Linked DNA regions of Homo sapiens: all the other regions are linked to region 3. Evidence: promoter capture Hi-C in 16 types of primary human blood cells and fetal thymus (Javierre and others, 2016). All regions are on one chromosome and are shown on one strand. Each heading gives the region's core, a stretch centred on a gene start or on the middle of the fragment in contact. The rest is flanking DNA. Distances are from core to core; before and after follow the strand shown.

What was found. Contacts are between HindIII fragments. The CHiCAGO score rates a contact against its expected background, and 5 or more counts as called.
Region 1: a fragment that was not itself captured here is called in contact with the fragment with the promoter of MKLN1-AS in region 3 in 6 of 17 cell types (activated CD4 T cells, total B cells, neutrophils and 3 more); the score reaches 8.7 in activated CD4 T cells.
Region 2: a fragment that was not itself captured here is called in contact with the fragment with the promoter of MKLN1-AS in region 3 in 6 of 17 cell types (naive B cells, total B cells, total CD8 T cells and 3 more); the score reaches 7.2 in naive B cells.
Region 4: a contact is called between a fragment that was not itself captured here and the fragment with the promoter of MKLN1-AS in region 3, in 5 of 17 cell types (naive B cells, total B cells, naive CD4 T cells and 2 more). The highest score is 9.7, in naive B cells.
Region 5: a contact is called between a fragment that was not itself captured here and the fragment with the promoter of MKLN1-AS in region 3, in 2 of 17 cell types (naive B cells and total CD8 T cells). The highest score is 5.6, in naive B cells.
Region 6: a contact is called between a fragment that was not itself captured here and the fragment with the promoter of MKLN1-AS in region 3, in 4 of 17 cell types (naive CD4 T cells, total CD8 T cells, neutrophils and 1 more). The highest score is 8.6, in naive CD4 T cells.
Region 7: a fragment that was not itself captured here is called in contact with the fragment with the promoter of MKLN1-AS in region 3 in 6 of 17 cell types (neutrophils, naive B cells, total CD4 T cells and 3 more); the score reaches 8.1 in neutrophils.

The regions. Positions count from the first base shown.
Region 1 is chr7:130,856,277-130,858,976 of GRCh38, forward strand. No RefSeq gene overlaps it. Among named protein-coding and RNA genes, the nearest start is that of MIR29A, 19 kb to the right of the region's middle. The HindIII fragment of the contact is 680 bases long and covers 963-1,642 here.
Region 2 is chr7:130,947,076-130,949,839 of GRCh38, forward strand. The region is part of intron 5 of LINC-PINT (long intergenic non-protein coding RNA, p53 induced transcript); the gene reads right to left. Among named protein-coding and RNA genes, the nearest start is that of LINC00513, 35 kb to the left of the region's middle. The HindIII fragment of the contact is 2,796 bases long and covers 34-2,764 here.
Region 3 is chr7:131,326,377-131,329,076 of GRCh38, forward strand. MKLN1-AS (MKLN1 antisense RNA) reads right to left here and starts at 1,403. Exons shown (of 6, transcript NR_125364.1): 1 at 1,239-1,403; 2 at 430-559. It overlaps MKLN1 (muskelin 1), which reads left to right and starts at 1,500. Exons shown (of 18, transcript NM_013255.5): 1 at 1,500-1,621. The coding sequence starts at 1,524. RefSeq lists enhancers at 1,265-1,841, 1,536-1,835, 1,842-2,418 and a silencer at 1,326-1,485. The HindIII fragment of the contact is 3,998 bases long and covers 1-2,700 here.
Region 4 is chr7:130,930,386-130,932,885 of GRCh38, forward strand. The region is part of intron 6 of LINC-PINT (long intergenic non-protein coding RNA, p53 induced transcript); the gene reads right to left. Among named protein-coding and RNA genes, the nearest start is that of LINC00513, 18 kb to the left of the region's middle. The HindIII fragment of the contact is 353 bases long and covers 1,075-1,427 here.
Region 5 is chr7:130,972,888-130,975,587 of GRCh38, forward strand. The region is part of intron 5 of LINC-PINT (long intergenic non-protein coding RNA, p53 induced transcript); the gene reads right to left. Among named protein-coding and RNA genes, the nearest start is that of LINC00513, 61 kb to the left of the region's middle. The HindIII fragment of the contact is 4,557 bases long and covers 1-2,700 here.
Region 6 is chr7:130,905,822-130,908,521 of GRCh38, forward strand. The region is part of intron 6 of LINC-PINT (long intergenic non-protein coding RNA, p53 induced transcript); the gene reads right to left. Among named protein-coding and RNA genes, the nearest start is that of LINC00513, 6.3 kb to the right of the region's middle. The HindIII fragment of the contact is 1,024 bases long and covers 939-1,962 here.
Region 7 is chr7:130,990,742-130,993,492 of GRCh38, forward strand. The region is part of intron 3 of LINC-PINT (long intergenic non-protein coding RNA, p53 induced transcript); the gene reads right to left. Among named protein-coding and RNA genes, the nearest start is that of LINC00513, 79 kb to the left of the region's middle. The HindIII fragment of the contact is 7,473 bases long and covers 1-2,751 here.

The DNA.
Region 1 (2,700 bases), core at 53-2,552, 470 kb before region 3:
CCCCTACTGCTTCAGTCTAGGAACTACCCCACTCATACAGGGACCAGCTGGGTGATGCATGTTCATCTGAGACAATGAGATAGGCCCACCAGCTCCTTCTCACAGCTGATCCTGAAGTGGTCCAGTCTCAACTCCATCTCCTCTTGCTGCAGTTGAGAAATGCAGAGATCTGCTGGGAGACACACTTGTCTGGGCCACAAGGACAGTTTTCTGGACTCAGGTCCCTCAGTCCAGTATCTGCCTGGGGTCTTCTCTAGGTCCATCTGGGCTGGAAAGCCATGTCAACCTCAGAGTCCTCATGAAACTCACGGCAAGCCTGGGCTTGGAGTGTCCTCTAGTGCTGAGATATCTGGCTGCAGTGGTCACAGGCTCAGGGAACACAACAGTCAGTCAGCTTAGAATCCGAAAGGCCCTCTGAAGGACAGGCACAAACAAAGCCAGAATGCAAAGACTAAAATAAATACCTAATTCCTAAATATGTAGACATTGTTGTACTTCTACAGGCATCAAAAACATTCAGGGAAATATGACCTCACAAATGAGGTAAAACAAGGTGCCAGCGACCAACCCTACAGTGATAGAGATGTGTGATCTCTCATACAAATAATTCAAAATAGCTGCTTTAAGGAGACTCAATGAAATTCCAGAAAACAGAAAATCAATTCAGAAATGTATCAGAAAAATTTAATAGAGACATTGAAAAAATTTTAAAAATCAAAAAATCCTGGAGCTGAAAAATACAATGAATGAAATGAAAAATGCAATATAGAGCATCAATGGCAGAAGTAATCAGTGACAGATTATTTGGATATACACAGAGGAAAAAAAAAGGAATAAAAATAATGAAAAAAGCTTACAATATGTATGAGACAACATCAAAAAAGAAAATATTCATTATTGGAGTTAAAGAGGGAACTGAGAAAGACAAAGGGGTAGAAAGCTTCTTCAGAGAAATAATAGAAAGCTTTCCAACCCTGGAGAAAGATACAAATACCAAAGCCAGGAAGATCAAAGATCACCAATCAGATTCAACCCAAATAAGAATATCCCAAGACATATTACATCGAACTTGCAAAAATGAAAGACAAAGAGAGGATTCTAAAAGCAGCAAGAGAAAAGAGGCAAATAACATATAAGGGAGATCCAATACTCCTGGCATCAGACTTCTCAGCAGAAACTTTTCAGGCCAGGAGGGAGATGATAATATTCAGAGTGTTGTAGGAAAAAAATGGCCAACCAAGAATACTGTATCAAAAAAAGTTCTTCAGAAATGGAGAGATAAAGACTATCCCAGACGGACTTTATATTTATAGCAACCAGAACTGTCCCACAAAAAATGCTAAAGGAAATTCTTCAAACTGAAAGAAAAGGACTCTAACGTAATTATTATAGTAATATTGTAATTGTGATAAACCACTTATATCTTTGGCCAAAAGACTGAAAGTCAAAACTATTAAAATAATTTTGAAAATAATTTGTTAAGAGACAGGCAATAAAAAAGGGTAATTGGTGACATCAAAAACTGTAAATGTGGAGGAAGAAGGGAGTTAACCTGTTTGGGTTGTTTCTTTGCTTTTTTATGATCAAAATTAAGTTGGCATCAGTTTTAAATACCTGTTATAACTGTAGGATTTGTTTTGTAAGCTTAACGGTAACTACAAAGCTAAAACCTATAACAGATAGACTAAAAATAAAAAGTAACAAAACATACTACCAGAGAAAAATCACTTAACCACAAAGAAAGACAAAGAAAGGAAGAGAGGAGTTACCTACAGCTAGTAAACAAGTAACAGTATGGCAGTAAGGCCTTATCTATCAATAGTAACATTGAATGTAAATGGACTGAATTCTCCAATTAAAAAAACAAAGAGTAGCTGCATGGATTAAAAAACAAGACCCAACAATATGCTGTCTACAAGAAACTCAATTCACCTGTAAAGATACACATAGACTGAAAGTGAAGGGATAGAAAGATGATATCCCATGCAATGGAAACCAAAAAAGAGCAGGAGTAACTATATGAGCTAAAATAGACTTTAAATTAAAAACTGTAAAAAGAGATAAATAGGGTTATTATATAATGATTAAGAGGTCAATTCAGCTAGAGGATATAACAATAGTAAATATATACACACCCAACACCAGAGTACCCAAATATACAAAGCAAATATTAATAGATCTGAAGGGAGAGATAGACTGCAATGCAGCAGTAAGAGGGGATTTCAGCATCCTACTTTTGACAATGGAAAGATCATTCAGGCAGAAAATCAACAAAGAAACATCAGAGTGAAACTGTACACCAAATGGACCTAACAGACATTTACAGAATATTTCACCCAACTGCTACAGAATACGCATTCTTCATCAGCACATGGAACATTCTCCAGGACAGACTATATGTTGGACCATGAAACAAGTCTCAACAAATACAAAAAAGTGGAAATTATATCAAGTATCTTTTCTGACCACAATAGAGTAAAACTATAAGTCAATAAAATGAGGAATGTTAAAAACTGTACAAATACATGGAAATTAAACAACATGTTTCCAGACAACCGGTTGGTCAGTGAAGAAATTAAGAAGGAAATTTAGAAATTTCTTGAAAAAAATAAAAATGGAAACAAAACATACAAGAATCTATAGGATACAGAAAAAGTAGTACTAACATGGAATTTTATAGCAGTAAATATCCACATTTTT
Region 2 (2,764 bases), core at 182-2,681, 380 kb before region 3:
TGGTCTCCAGACTGGATTAGGATACATTAAAAAAGCTTAAAAAGGGCAGACGGAGACATTAGATTTTTTATTACTTCTTTATAATCTTGAGATGGTTGGCATTTTCTGTAATATATTGTTTTTATAACTGGAAAAATTCTATTTATGCTAATTACCACCCTCTAAATATTTCTCAGCTTTATAAAATCATGAAAATATTTGCAAATACTTTTGAACAAGAAATTTTTTTTTTTTTTGAGATGGGGTCTTCAGGGGGAGTGCAATGGTACAATCATAGCTCACTGTAACCTCGAACTCCTGGGCTCAGACTATCCTCCCATCTCAATCTCCCAGCTACTCAGGTATGAACTACCACACCCAGCCAGAAATTCTTATATTTATTATTAAATGCAAAGAAGAAGGTGCAAAACAATGTGATCTTTACTATGTAAAAATTTACATGAAAGAGACTGGAAGCCTATGCATCAGAATGTTAATAGTTGTTGCTTTTAGGTAGTGCCATTGTGTGTAATACTTTTCTACACCTTACAAATTTTCTGTGATTGTCATATATTGTTTTCATAATAAGAAACAGATAACAGTTTCACAATTAGAGGACTAATACATCAAGAAGCTACTATTATCAACAGTTAAATTTCAAAATACAGAGTATCGATAGCTACAAAAATTTGCCCTATGACCAAGAGATTTTTTTTAATTTAGGAACCACTGGTATACCTTCAGAAAACAGTAGGAATTGGTGTGTGTGTAGGAGGTGATAATGAATCATATTTTTTTTTTTAGCTGTCAAACTGTTTTCTCCAGGCAGCAGTTCTGTGAGGTCCAACTGAAGTATGAGAACCTTGATAGTAGGGACATTACCAGAAAAATGGCCCAAAGGTCGATGGGGGGAGGAACAGTAAATGATCAAAAGAGTAAGGCAAGAGTCCATGAAAACAGAAGCGTCAATAGAGAAGGATCAATAACTTATTTGATCCAAAGGAACTGAAAGCAGGAACTAAAACAGGTATTTGTACACCCACGTCCCTAACAGCATTATTCACAACAGCCAAAACATGAGAGCAACCTGTGTCCATCAACCCGTGTCCATCACATGGATATATAAAATGTGGCATATCTACATGGCGGAATATTATTCAGCCTTAAAAAGCAAAGAAATCATGTCAATGCTACAATGTTGTTGTAATCCTACAACATTAGACGAACCTTGAGGACATTGTGCTAAGTGAAATAAGCCAGTCACAAAAGGACAAATACTGTAGGGTTTCACTTATTTGAGGTACCTAGAATAGTCAAATTCAAAGAAACAGAAAGTACAATGATGGTTTTCAGGGGAGCTGGGGGGAGGAGGGAATGGGGAGTTGTTGTTTAATGAGGACAGAGTTTCTGTTTTGCAAAATGAAAAGATTCCAGAGATGGATGATGGTGATGGGTGCACAACAACATGAATGTATTTAATGCCAATGACCTGTGTACTTAAACATGGTTAAGATGGTAATTTTTCTGTTACATATTTTACCACGATTAAAATATATACATATATATTTTAAGTATCTGTATTTACATATAGATATAGTCTTATCTGTGTATATATATATATATATATTTCATCTATAAATATATGAAAGAAAGAAAGAAACCATCAGAATTAGAAGTCCTGAATAAGTTTCCGATTTGGAATGCAAGAAAGGTTTAGGAGTGTCAATGATGCAAGCATCAAATGACCTTATTTCTGAGACTAAATTCTTTAAATATAAATTATAGAAGTCAGCTCAGAAGTGAAAATCCAGATCAAAAGTGAAAATAAGAAGGGATACTGTGTGTAATTTGAACATAATATACCAAACTTCTTTGTGGTTTTTTTTTGAGACCCTCTCATAATAGCCAGCTTGGAAAAATTCCCCACAACTAGGAAAGAACCTACAAATCCAAGCAACATGATGACATTTTCTCATCAACAGGAAAAAACATAAGCATAAGGGAAACTCTGAGTGTCCTTAAAATGTACTCGATACCCATTTTGTGCTATTACCACAGATTTAAAGAATTCTAGAGCTGGACAGAAGCTCTCAGATAGAACTGTTCCAGGACTCAGATGTCTAAAGAGGCTTCCCCAAGGTCACTGAGCAATGCCAGATTTAAAGACAAGCCCCTGGAGAAGAGTTCTATTTTGTTTGTTGTGTTTTATTTAATATATTTATTAATTTTGAGATGGAGTTTCGCTCTTATTGACCAGGCTGGAGTGCAATGGTGCAATCTCGGCTCACTGCAACCTCTGTCCCCTCGGTTCAAGCAATTCTCCTGCCTCAGCCTCCTGAGTAGCTGGGATTACAGGCACACGCCACCATGCCCAGCTAATTTTTGTATTTTTAGTAGAGACAGGGTTTCACCATGTTAGCCAGGCTGGTCTCGAACTCCTGACTTCAGGTGATCCGCCCACCTTGGCCTTCCAAACTGCTGGGATTACAGGCATGAGCCACCATGCTTGGCCGTGTTTTATTTTTTTTAAAGAGGTGGCTATTTAAAGGTAAGAAAGCAAGTGTAATTGGAAGGCTCTTTCTACAAGTCATTTTATTCATTAATTTTGTTCAAAAAATACTTGAGTACATCTTGTATAACTCTGCCAGGCACTGGGCTAGGTGCTAGATGATGAACAATATTTCATCATCCTTCCTGTAGCAAACTGGCAATTACAATGTAAAGGAGGCATACAATGCTATTAGTACACATAAGAGGGGGCTCTAATCTGTTCTAGCTAGATTGG
Region 3 (2,700 bases), core at 153-2,652:
CTCTGTTGCCCAGGCTGGAGTGCAGTGGTGTGATCTTGGCTCACTGCAACCTCTGCCTCCTGGGTTCAAGTGATTCTTGTGCCTCGGCCTCCCAAGTAGCTGAGATTATAGGTGTATGTCACCACACGCAGCTAACTTTTGTATTTTTAGTAGAGACGGGGTTTCACCATGTTGGCCACGCTGGTTTCGAACTCCTGACCTCAGGTGATCCACCCACCTCAGCCTCCCAACGTGCTGGGATTACAGGTGTGAGCCACCGTGCCGGGCCTGGCCTTTCTATCTGGCTTTTTTGATTTGATATCCTAGTAGAGCCCACTATTAAAATTTCCATCTATAGAAACAGGAAGTCAGGAAAGGACTGGAGGGAATTTCGGCAGGTTAATGATTACAACGGGAAGAGAATACAATTATTGAGGTGTTTTGACTCACTTGGTCATTTCCTGAGAAACTCTTTGCTTGAATTTTTCCACTCTTCAGGTGAAGATGATGACACTGTCCAGGCTTTCAGGAGTCCAACCTCTTAGACAATAAGCGACATACTCTTTGGTAACTGCAGTGGCTAAGCCAAGGAATAAATATGCATAACTACAACAAACAGGTACTTGATGAGAACGTTATCTAGAGCTGCCAGATAATTTAGACCAAGTGCACCTTTTGTTGTAAGAAGCTGGTATGATGTCCACATAGTTTTCAGGGCTGCTGTTCCCTCTAAGAAGAAGGAATAGTCTTTTTCCTGAACTACTCTCTCTCTGAACTTTTAGGCTACAATTATGTCAGTTCAAAGTGGGCAGATTTGCCAACTGAAAAAATGATGACACGCAGCTTCCCAACTCTGTAAGGACTTTTCAGGTCTGTGGGTGAACGTCATTCCCGAGCAAACCAATGCCACAAGATTAGTAGGATGCGGCTCACAAGAAATGTTTACAATGAAGGGCATCACAGACTGCAAACCAAACAGGGTAGGAGGACACGGGACCATTTCCTTTTCCTGTCTCCATCTGACTCTGGAAGGCGGGGACAAGACATTTAAAACCAGGACCACTCCAGGAGGACAGCACATTAGCTACTGCCCTCCAGCTCCCTTCAGTGTTGTTTCCGTAAAGGACTTATAAACTGGCGAGGGCGGTGGCTTCCAAAAGCGCACAGGCGTCCCTTTTCCAACTTGGTCTTCTTATTTTCCCTTCCTGCTCCATAACTACAACGTGTTTCTGTTCGTAATCATCTCGGCTTTTCCTTACCTCTGCTTGTAAGAAAAGTCCTTTGCGCCATTCCCCTCCAAGCCCCAGGGAAGGGCCTGGAAAGCGCTTACACCTCAGACCCAGTGTCGGTCAGCCGTCAAGGAGCGAGCGACGTGGGAAACCCTGAGATAGGACATTGGCCCGGCGCTGGGCTCGGGTAACGATGCGGGGCGGGGAGCGCGGGCGGCCGGGGAGGGCGGCGGCCCCTTTAAGAGCAGGCCACGCCCCCTCCCCTCCTCCCGTTCGCTGCCAGCGGTCGGTGGCGGCCGCTACGGTGCTGACAAGATGGCGGCTGGCGGAGCTGTCGCTGCGGCGCCCGAGTGCCGGCTTCTCCCCTACGCGCTACACAAGTGGAGCTCCTTTTCCTCCACCTACCTTCCCGAGTAAGTGCCGGGCCTTGAGCTCGTGCTGCCCCACCCTTCCGCGTCAGCACGGTTGGGCCAGGGGTGCAATGGAGGGCAGCCGAGCCGAGAGGCCCAGGCGGGGCCTGCTGAGGGGGACGTGCGGCCTCCGGAGTCTTAGTTCAGCTGCTGAGAGCGTTGCTCGGCCTCGCTCGGGAAGGGGTTAGGGTCCGGAGAGCGAGCCCAGGGAGAAGGGGCGAGGTGTGTGGCGGATCCGGGGCGCGCACAGGAGAACCGGAAGCCCAGCGGTTCTGCGCTTGGGATTTGGGGGTTGAGGTTGAGGAGGGCTTGGGGGGCGGACGGCTCTGGGGCAGGAATCGGAGTTGGCGGGGCCCTGCCCGCGGGCAAACTACCCCGAATGTCTGAGGTCGTCCGAGGTGGTCGGCGTCGGGGGACAGTTCAGTCGATTGCTGCCGGGACAAAGTGTAAAGCCGAGGAGTGTCTATTCCAGAGTGGGGTCATTAAAAGTGATTAGCTCTAGAGTAGTGTTAAAAGTCACGGAAGGCTGAAAAGTTGTGGAATCCATCTGAATCCTAGCAGGCGGGGAGAACTTGTAGGATTGGCAGACGTTGTCTTTAATGCCTGGAAGTTCTGAAAAAGATAGGGAGTGGGAAGGAGGGACGTTACCGAAGAATTTCAGTATTACGGCTCATTAGAAGATGGGTTTGTATGGACACAGACACGTTTCCCAGTCCGGAAACTCAAACATAGAAACATCTGGCTTTAATGAATTTGATTTTCAACACCGGCTTTGTCTTGATCCCTGATTTAGGTGTTAAAAAAATTCAGTTGCATTGTTAGGTTTTTGTTGGTGGTGTTTTTTTCTCTAGCAAATTCCTTCTGAAATGCTGAAAATACTCTTACATAGTATCTTATTTATCTTTGGCTTATCTTTGAAAGGAGGAGCAGATCTAACTCCAATTTTACATGCTAGTGGAGGAACTGGCTTAGTAAAGGGTTAAGATCTGTGCAGATCCTGAAGAAAAGTGCTAGTTGTCCCTCTAACCATCTCACAGGACCGAAACGATTTTATGAACGAAACAAATTAATGAATAATATAT
Region 4 (2,500 bases), core at 1-2,500, 400 kb before region 3:
TGTTGAAGGCCAGTGATGTCAGAGTTACTCTTCCTTCCTCCAGCAGCACTGACAGCAGTTTATTGTACGCAATTTCTAGAACTCAGATGTTCTAGAAGGAAGCAAACATATTCTGAGATCACAGACTATGACTATGCTCTCAGAATATGTTCTAGAACACCTAAGTTGCAATTCTTAAAATCAACACAGCGTAAGACTGCTTTAGGAGGAAGTGATCAAGCTCAAAGCAACCTAGGCATGATGTGCCTTGTTTGTTTATCTGTTTGAACAGGAATAAAACGAAAAGAGGCCTGTGTATTTCTCGTATTTTTATATAAGAGCTGGAGCTATTTGAACGGCTAAGGAGAAGAAGATAGTTTGATTTAGATTTGGCATGGGTTTAGGGGAAGAAACGTCTCTGTAGCTGGTCCTAAATATTATGGTAACTTGGACTGAATCAGTCTCCAAGGGAGAAGCTGCCACATGTTATAACAGAAGCCACTGGGCTTGGCAAGAAACAAATGAAAAAAAGTACAACGAAAGCAACCCCACTTCTCCATCGTGGCGGGGATGAGCTAGGCAGGACGACTGCATGTCTTCCTTTCCTATGCCTGACCAAATCCAGCACTGCCCTTTCAAATCAGTCTTCATCACATTCCAAAGAATACAAAATACGCAAGTTAATTTTAATTTCCAATGAATTCTTCAGGAGAAATTTTTCTTCCTCCTTCCTAAAAAAAAGAATAAAAAATGCAGAATAGAGATTCAAAATGAGGGGTGGCAGCAAAAATTCTGACTCGCAGAAGGTTGAGAGGGTGCCTTTTTCAAATGTATTTATTTTACAGTTCCAAGAAGGTAAGACTACCTTCTGTTTTGATTCATGCTTCACCATTCCCCACTTAAATTTTTAAAAATTACATCCTTGCCTATGTCTGTCTTGCTATTTGACTGGTCACTCCCAAACATAAACTGCCCTAGTTTGAAGCTTCCCAAAGCCAAGCAAAGGTGACAGACTAGTACAAAGAAGGCCGCTAGTGAGTTTTTACTGAGTGAATCTACATTGTTCCATGGCCTTGGTCTGGATATAGATTCTAAAGCTTCTTACACTGACACAAATGGAGTTTCTAGCTCTCCAGGTAATTTTCGGTGAAAGAAAATTATAGAAGAAGGCATAAACCTTGGCTCACAAAATAAATACGCACTCAGACCCATGTACTTCATGAAACATACAAGCCCAGAGCTAGACCATGCCATCTGTTTTATGAGGAAAAAAAATAAATTCACATGATTTACTTACTTTAGCTCTGCCAGAAATCATCAGCATCTACTTGCACAACTAAAGACAAGAAGACAAGGCAGATGGAGGCTAAACACCGAATACTGCCTAATTTTGATGTATATTTTTGGGTCAAACCTCTTATAATTTACTATTTCCAAGAGGGAAAATAAGCTTATATAATGGCACTGAATCATTGGCTTCCAGTTATGGGAAGCAAAGGAAATTAACCTCAAGGGGAAAAAAATGCTACAAATATAAATAATATAGTTTCTGTTTACGAAGCAGTTTTTCATGTACTGCCATTTCTTTCTTTTTTTAAAGAAGATATGTTTACAAAATAGGTGACCAACTAAGGTAGGTGTGTGTGAAGAGAGGCAGTGAGAGAGAGGGGATCCTGAAATTCTTTTCAGTAAAGGAAAAAGATAATTTTAGGGATGTTTTTAAAAATATATAACTTGATGAATTTTTTATAGCATGAGTATTATTTAGGTGCTGTCCTAGACCAGTGTGGCGTATAGGCTATAGAAGATTGGTCCTGAATGCTAATGGCAGGGATGAGTGTAAGATCATCAAAACTTATTTGTGGGAAGGAGAGCTACTGACAGAGCCATGTATTACATGACTCCAGTCTGGGCTGATAGGCCTGCCTTAAAGCATAGCTAGAGGGCAGGCACGGTGGCTCATGCCTGTAATCTCAGCACTTTGGGAGGTTGAGGCGGGCAGGTCACTTGAAGTCAGGAGTTTGAGACCAGCAACATGGTGAAACCCCATCTCTACTAAAAATACGAAGATTAGCCGGGTGTGGTAGCATGTGCCTGTAGTCCTAGCTACTCAGGAGGCTGAGGCAGGAGAATCGCTTGAACTGGGGAGGCAGAGGCTGCAGTGACCCAAGATTGTGCCACTTGCACTCCAGCCTGGGTGACAGAGTGAGACTCCATTTCAAAAAAAAAAAAAAAAAAAAAAAAGCATAGATAGACAAAATGTCCTGGAATCACTAAAATGGATAAATTATGATATCCATAAAGTGGATAAGTTATGATATATATTCACACACTAGATACACACATTATGATATATTCATATATATCGTGAAGGCTAAACCCACATGAGTCCATAACACACTCACAGGTCTGTGCCCTTTGGCCCTGGCCCTCTCGCCATTCGGAAGCGATCACAGAGAACACAATGAGTCTGTTATTCGCTCAATATACAGTCATGTGCAGCATAACATTTCAGTCAATG
Region 5 (2,700 bases), core at 98-2,597, 350 kb before region 3:
TCCAGCTTCATCCATGTCCCTACAAAGGACATGAACTCATCATTTTTTATGGCTGCATAGTATTCCATGCTGTATATGTGCCACATTTTCTTAATCCAGTCTATCATTGTTGGACATATGGCTTGGTTCCAAGTCTTTGCTATTGTGAGTAGTGCCACAATAAACATACGTGTGCATGTGTTTGGATATATACTCGGAAGTGAGATTGCTGGGTCCCATGTGCAATAGCATCAAAAAGAATAAAATGCTTAGGAATAAACTTAACCAAAGAGATAAAATATTTCTACACTGAGAACTACATAAGATTAATAAAAGAAATTGAAGAAAACACAAATAAAGGGGAAGAAAGCCCATGTTCATGGATTGAAAGACCTACTACTGGTAAAATATCCATACTATCCAAAGCAATCTGCAGACACAATGCAATCCCTACTAAAATCCTAATGGTATTTTCTACAAAAATTTTTTTAAAAATCCTAACATTCATATGGAACAACAAAGGACTCCAAATAGTCAAACACAAACTTTAGAAAGAACAAATTTGGAGGCATCATACTTCCTGATTTCTAAATTTATTACGAATTTACAGTAACTTTAACAGTACAGCAATGGCATTAAAACAGATTTATAGACCAGTGGAACAGAATATAGAGCCCAGAAATAAACCCACAGATAAACAGTTAACTGATCTTTGGCAAGGGTACCAAGAATACACATACATCAGGGAAGGATAATCTCTTCCACAAATGATGCTCAGAAAACTGAATATCCACATGCAACATAATCAAATTGGATTTTGTTATGGTTTGGATCTGTATCCCCAAATCTCATGTCAAACTGTATCCTAAATGTTAGAGGTGGTGCCTGGTGGGAGGTGACTCAATCATGGGGGCACATTTCCCTCTTGGTGCTGTTTTCATGATAGTGAATGAGTGAGTTCTGGTGAAATCTGCTCATTTAAAAGTGTGTGGTACCTCCCTCCCCAACTCTCACTCCATATCTTGGCCATGTAAGATGTGCCTGTTTTCATTCTGACTTCTGCCATGATTGTAAGTTTCCTAAGGCCTTCCCAGAAGCAGAAGCCACTATGCTTCCTGTACAGCCTGCAGAACTGTGAGCCAATTAAACCTCTTTTCTTTATAAATTACCGAGTCTCAGGTATTTCTTTATAGAAATTCAAGAATGGACTAACACAGAAAATTAGTACCAAGAAAAGGGGCATTGCTATGATACCTGAAAATGTGGAAGCAGCTTTGAAACTGGATAACAGGCAGAGGTTGGAACAGTTTGGAGGGCTCAGAAGAAAACAGGAAGATGAGGGAAAAGTTTGGAACTTCCTAGAGACTTGAATTGTTGTGACCAAAATGCTGATAGTGATATGGACAATGAAGTCCAAGCTGAGGAGGTCTCAGGTGAATACGGGAAAGTTACCGAGAATTGGAGTAAAGCTATGCTTTAGCAAACAGCCTGGCTGCAATGTGTCCTTGCTCTATGGATCTGTGGAACTTTGAACTTCAAAGTGATGATTTAGGGTATCTGATGGAAGAAATTTCTAAGCAGTGAAGTATTCAAGACATGGCCTGGCTGCTCACATGTGTAAGCAAAGAAATGACCTGTAATTTGAACTTTTTTATAAAAGAAAAGCAGAGTTTCCAAAGTTTAGAAAATTTGCATCCTGGCCATGTGGCAGAAAAGAAAAGCCCATTTTCAGGAGAGCAATTCAAGCTAAAAGAAAGACAAGTGCTGATAGCCAAGACAATGGGGAAAAGGCCTCGATAGTATTTCAGAGAACTTCATGGCAGCCCTTCTCATCACAGGCCCAAAGGCCTAGTAAGACTGAAAGGTTTTGTGGATCAGGCCCAGCTGCCCTGCACAGCCATGAGAACTGCTCCCTGCATCCCAGCAGCTCCAGCTCTAGCCATGGCTCAAAGGGGCCCAGGTATAGCTCAGGCCACTGCTCTGGAGGATGTAAGCCATAAGCCTTGGTAGCTTCCATGTAGTGTTAAGCCTGTGGGTACACAGAGTGTAAGAGTGAATGAGGCTCAGGAGCCTCCGCCTAGATTTCAGAGGATATATAGAAAAGCCCGGATGTCCAGGCAGAAGTCTGCTGCAGGGATAGAGCCCTTATGGAGAGCCTCCATTAGGGCAGTGTAGAGGGGAAATGTAAGATTGGAGCCCCTACACAGTGTCCCCACTGGAGCACTGCCTAGTGGAGCAGTGAGAAGAGGGCCACTGTCCTCCAGACCCCAGAATGGTAGATCCACTGGCAGCTTGCACCCTGCACCTGGAAAAGCCATACACATTCAACACCAGCCCTTGAGAGCAGCCACAGGGGCTGAATCCTGCAAAGCCACAGGAGCAGAGCTGCCCAAGGCCTTGTGAGCCTACCCCTTGCATCACTGTGTCCTGAATGTGAGACTTAGAGTCAAAGGAGATTATTCTGGAGCTTTAAGATTTAATGACTGCCCTGCTGGGTTTCAGACTTGCATGGGGCCTGTAGCCCCTTTCTTTTGGCCAATTTCTCCCTTTTGGAATGGAAGTATTTACTCAATGCCTGTACCTCCATTGTATCTTGAAAATAACTAACTTGTTTGTTATTTTCCAGGCTCATGAGCAGAAGGGACTTGCCTTGTCTCAGATGAGACTTTGGATTTTTGAGGTCATGCTGGAAAAAAGTCAAGACTTTGAGGAACTGTTGGG
Region 6 (2,700 bases), core at 201-2,700, 420 kb before region 3:
CCCAGCTGCAATCCCATCTCTAAGCCAGGATGCTATTAGGTCTCAACAACCCATGGGAATTTAGGGTGCTCATGATTTAGGCTGGAAAGAGGTGACTAAGCTCCTTGATCTAAGGTCTATGCAACTGGCCACTCACTGCGGACCAGGGACATTCAATGCCAGACAGCGGTAGGGCTGGTCTGGGGCGGCAAGCCAGATCCTGGGCAAAGCAGCCTTTCTGCTAAGGGTTCCCTGGCAGACCACGACGATGGCCTCTTGCAAATGTGACCTGACGGTGGCAAAAGTCTTCTTTCAAAGCCCATTCCTAGGGCCTGCTCTTTCCCCAGCACTGTCCCCCAGGAAGCCCCCTTGCTAGCCATATTCATAAAGTTAAACGACTAAAACATGTTTTGGAAAGTAGTTTCTCTTGGTATTTTAGTGTGTTGTTTACTCTCTTACTGTACTAACAATATAAATTGCTAAAGGCTTCCTGGAAATCAAAACTGCAAATTAGAGAAAAATAGGGTTAGAGAAAATGTCTTTGATAGTCCACTTTGAAATTCAAATAATGATTTGAGAAGTTTAAGAATTATTACGTGAATAGATGGTAAAGTGACAGAATATTAATTATAGAATCTAGCCAGTGTATTTTTCATAATAAAATATTGGAAAAAAGTATTACCGCATCTTCTGTGCATACCAATATCCAACAAGTTCATGGGCTCCTACCGCTGGATATAATAGCAAAAAGTCTTGAAATATAAAATAAAGGAAGCACCACAAATTAAATAGGGAAAGATACATGACTCAAAACATGATGGGGGATTTACTTTGTGAAACAAAGTCCATTTGGATCTTTGTTTCACACTTTTTTTTTTTTTTTTTTTAAAGACACAGGGTTCTTGCTCTGTTGCCTAGGCTGGAATGCAATAGCATGATAATAGCTAACTACAGCCTCAAGCTTCTGGGCTGAAGTGATCCTCCCACCTCAGCCTCCCAAGCAGCTAGGACTACAGACACATGCTACCATGCCTGCCTAATTTTTAAATTTTTTGGTAGAGGTGGGGTCTCACTGTGTTACCCAGGCTTGTCTTGAACTCCTAGCCTCAAGTGATTTTTCCACCTTAGCCCCCGCAAAGCACTGAGATTACAGGTGTGAGCCACTGTGCCTGGCCACATCTTACTTCTAATTTGGTGAGTTTAATGTTAAAAATGAAACTTTAAAAAAAAATAGATGAATATTTTCTAACTTCTGGGTAGGAAGGAATTCCTAAGCCTGAGGTAACAGAAGTTACACAGGAAAAAAAAAAAGATAAAATAACTTACTCCACTACATAAAATATAAAGGTTCTCATGAGAACACATGGACACAGGGAGCAGAACATCACACACCAGGGCCTGTTGGTGGGTGGCGGACTATGGGAGGGATAGCATTAGGAGAAATACCTAATGTAGATGGTGGTTTGATGGGTGCAGCAAACCACCATGGCACGTTTATACCTATGTAACAAACCTGCACGTTCTGCCCATGTATCCCAGAACTTAAAGTATAATAATAATAATAAAATAAAGGTTCTGTATTTCCAATAAAGTATAAGCAAAATTAAAAGTCAAAGAAGCTGGGAAAAGTATTTACCCCAAATATCGTATACACACACACACACACACACACATCGTTATAAATATATCATAGAAACAGTCACACCCTAGTAGAAAAGTTGATAATGGACACGAACAGAACATTTACAAAAGAAAACAACAGGCTGATGCACACAAGAAGAAAGTTCAGCGTTACTGGTAGAGATGAAAACATGCCACATGCCTGACATGGAGTGAACATTCATTAAATAGCTTCTGAGTAGATGAACCAAAAAGAATGTAACCTTTTTGTCTAAAGATAAAAAAGAGAGAACACTCAATGCTGATGAAGATATGGAGAGAAGGACATTTCATACTTTGCTAAAATGTGCAGAACTTGGTTCAAGCTTTCTAGAAAACAATTTAGCAAGGTATATCAAGAATCTTACAGTTAACCTCCTTTTACTCAAGAAATTCACTGTAAGGAATCTCTCCTAAGGAAATCATTAAAAATATGCCCAAGATTCATGTATTTAAAAGGTTAATTACTATAATAAAAAATAGTTTTTAAAAACTGGAAGCAAATTAGACACTCCCAAATTAGAGAATTAGCACCATTAGAAATATTTTAAAGGCATTTTAAAGCATAGGGAGAACATGCCTGTTTTAAAAGTGGGATAGAAAGTGTCTATACAGGCCGGGCATGGTGGCTCAAGCCTGTAATCCCAGCACTTTGGGAGGCCGAGACGGGCAGATCACGAGGTCAGGAGATCGAGACCATCCTGGCTAACATGGTAAAACCCCGTCTCTACTAAAAATACAAAAAATTAGCCGGGCGTGGTGGCGGGCACCTGTAGTCTTAGCTACTTGGGAGGCTGAGGCAGGAGAATGGCATGAACCCGGGAGGTGGAGTTTGCAGTGAGCCGAGACTGCGCCACTGCACTCCAGCCTGGGTGACAGAGCAAGGCTCCGTCTCAAAAAAAAAAAAAAAAAAAGAGGAAAGTGTCTATACAGGCTGGGCGTGGTGGCTCACACCTGTAATCCCAGCACCTTGGGAGGCCGAGGTGGGTGGATCACCTGAGGTCAGGAGTTCGAGACCAGCCTGACCAATAGGGTGAAACCCCGTCTGTACTAAAAATACAC
Region 7 (2,751 bases), core at 21-2,520, 340 kb before region 3:
TGGCTAGCCTGCTTCTCGCCCGCTCAGCGTACTTCTCCCCTGCACCATCTCCCTCTGCTGTAAATATCTAGACTGTCAGGTCTCTGAGGGCAGGACCACATGCTATTTCCCTGTGTATCCTCAGTGCTGACCATAGTGACCTGGATACAGCATGCACTGGATGATGGGAGGAAGGAAGAAGAGGGGAGGTGGGTAAAGAGAGAGATGATGATGCCTAAATTATCATCTGCTATGCATACTGTAGAAGGAACTCTGATACTGAGAGGAATGTTGATTTCAATGAACTTATTCTACACAGACATGAATTACTGTGGCCTTCATTAAGGTTATTTTATGTATGTTTAACAATCCATTTATTGTTATTTAGCTGTTTAGAAACAGTCCCAATATTTTGCTTTTACTCATATATATGTCAGTATTTAGCAGTGTAAATAAAGTCTAAGTTTTTATACTAAAAACCATCTTTCAAAGTTACTGAGACGCCTGCAGAAAATGTGTCCACAGCATTTCACTGCAGTTTGGAATAACTCTGTATCATTAAAACAAGCACAGGGGCCTCTACTGGCAAAACTACCCAGCAACACTTTATAAGCCTTTATGTTAGAACGCTGAATATCAGAAAGTGAAGTGAGTCTCCAAACTTTCCCTAATTCAGACAAGACTTTACCTTAATTACTAATTAGTACCAATAAGGGAAGATTGATTGATTGATTGATTTTAGACGGAGTTTCACTCTTGTTGCCCAGACTGGAGTGTAGTGGTGTAATCTCGGCTCACTGCAACCTCCAACTCCTGGGTTCAAGTGATTCTCCACCACGCCCGGCTAATTTTGTGTTTTTAGTAGAGATGGGGTTTCTCCATGTTGCTCAGGCTGGTCTTGAACTCCCAACCTCAGGTGATCCACCCGCCTTGGCCTCCCAAAGTGCTGGGATTACAGGCATGAGCCACCGAGATGGCTGGGAAGTTTTATTTTACCATTTGTTCATTTTCTCACACTCTAACACCCAAGGCAACAACCTACTTCAAGACATGACATGTTTGGGCTCTGGGGTCACTTCCATCAAGGGCCATTTGACTAGGGCTTCTCAGGGGCGTGACATGTAGGCGAATACATCTGGGAACTACAGAGCCATTGCTAACAACGCTCATTACTATTCAGAATGATCACCATCAGGCACATCAGCACCTTTCCCTCCGACAATGGAACCAACACCCGAGCCACAGAGCTGGGCTCTGCTGCTGCATAGGGCACCGACTCAGTACCGGCACATCCCGGCTGTCCTTGCTGTCTCCCCATTCTTCCCCAAAGTGGGGCCTATCAGCACACTGCCAAACTCACCTCCCCAGCAGCCTGGTTCCTTTAGTCCCACTTTCTATCCTGGACTACTGCCCTGAGGGACAACAGAATGGTTTCTGGACTCTTTGGACACCAAGGCCAACCCGGGCTGCCGTAGGGGCAAGGCCTAAAGAAGGAGCCTGCAGCCTCCACACCGTGGGTGTCAGGGTCATGTGCGTGTGAACTGCCAGCCCCGTTTCGTTGTGTTACTACAGAGAGAAACACAGTGGACCTTCTCTAGCATGAGAGCACCATAGTCTAGGAGGAGTGAAGGAAGGTCTTTATTTCATGAGACTTAAAAAAAAAATAGCTTCAAGATATAGTTTTAGAAACATAAGCAGACATCTTGTGGTCTGACAACAATTCATAAATCAGATCTTAAAACTGATTTTAGCAGATCTTTTCTATAAAATGCTGTATTTATAAAATGGAAAAAAGGCAGGATGGTGCAGCAAATTGGCCAAGCACAGATTGCATATTGACTTCATCTGACACTTTTTTTTTGTTTGTTTGTTTTTGAGATGTAGTCTCGTTCTGTCACCCAGGCTGGAGTTGCAGTGGCGCGATCTCGGCTCACTGCAACCTCCGCCTCCCAGGTTCAAATGATTCTCCTGCCTCAGCCTCCCAAGTAGCTAGGACTACAGGCACACATCACCATGCTCGGCTAATTTTTTTTTCTTTTTTTTGTATTTTTAGCAGAGAGGAGGTTTTACCATGTTGGCCAGGCTGGTCTCAAACTCCTGGGCTCAGGCAATCCTCCTGCCTCGGCCTCCCATAGTGCTGGGATTACAGGCATGAGCCACCGTGCGTGGCCCTAGCCCATTTTCTTTTCTTTTCTTTTCTTTTCTTTTTCTTTTTTTTTTTTTTTTTTGAGGCGGAGTCTCGTTCTGTTGCCCAGGCTGGAGTGCAGGGGTGCAATCTTGGCTCACTGCAACCTCTGCCTCCCAGGTTCAAGTGATTCTCCCACCTCCGTCTCCCGAGTAGCTGGGATTACAGGTATGCACCACCATGCTCTGCTAATTTTTTGTGTATGTGTATTTTTAGGAGAGACAGGTTTTCGCCATATTGGCCAGGCTGGTTTCCAACTCCTGACCTCAAGTGATCTACCCACCTCGGCTTCCCAAAGTGCTGGGATTACAGGCGTGAGCCACCACACCCAGCCTCATCTGACAAGTTTTAAAGTGGCAGTAAGAAGTGGCCTGTGTTCCATGATACAGAATATGAATCTACTTCCAATTGAAAAATATTCATGTATCACCCAACCAGGATGGCTGCAGCAGGAACAAAAGCAAACATGCTGAGAAATAAGATGTCTGGCGGCTACTCTTGATTTGAGGCTGTTTGTACATAGGGTCTAATTTTCAAAATAAAATCTTCTTTGCTTGTTTTGCCAGTTCTTTCTTATATTTGAACTA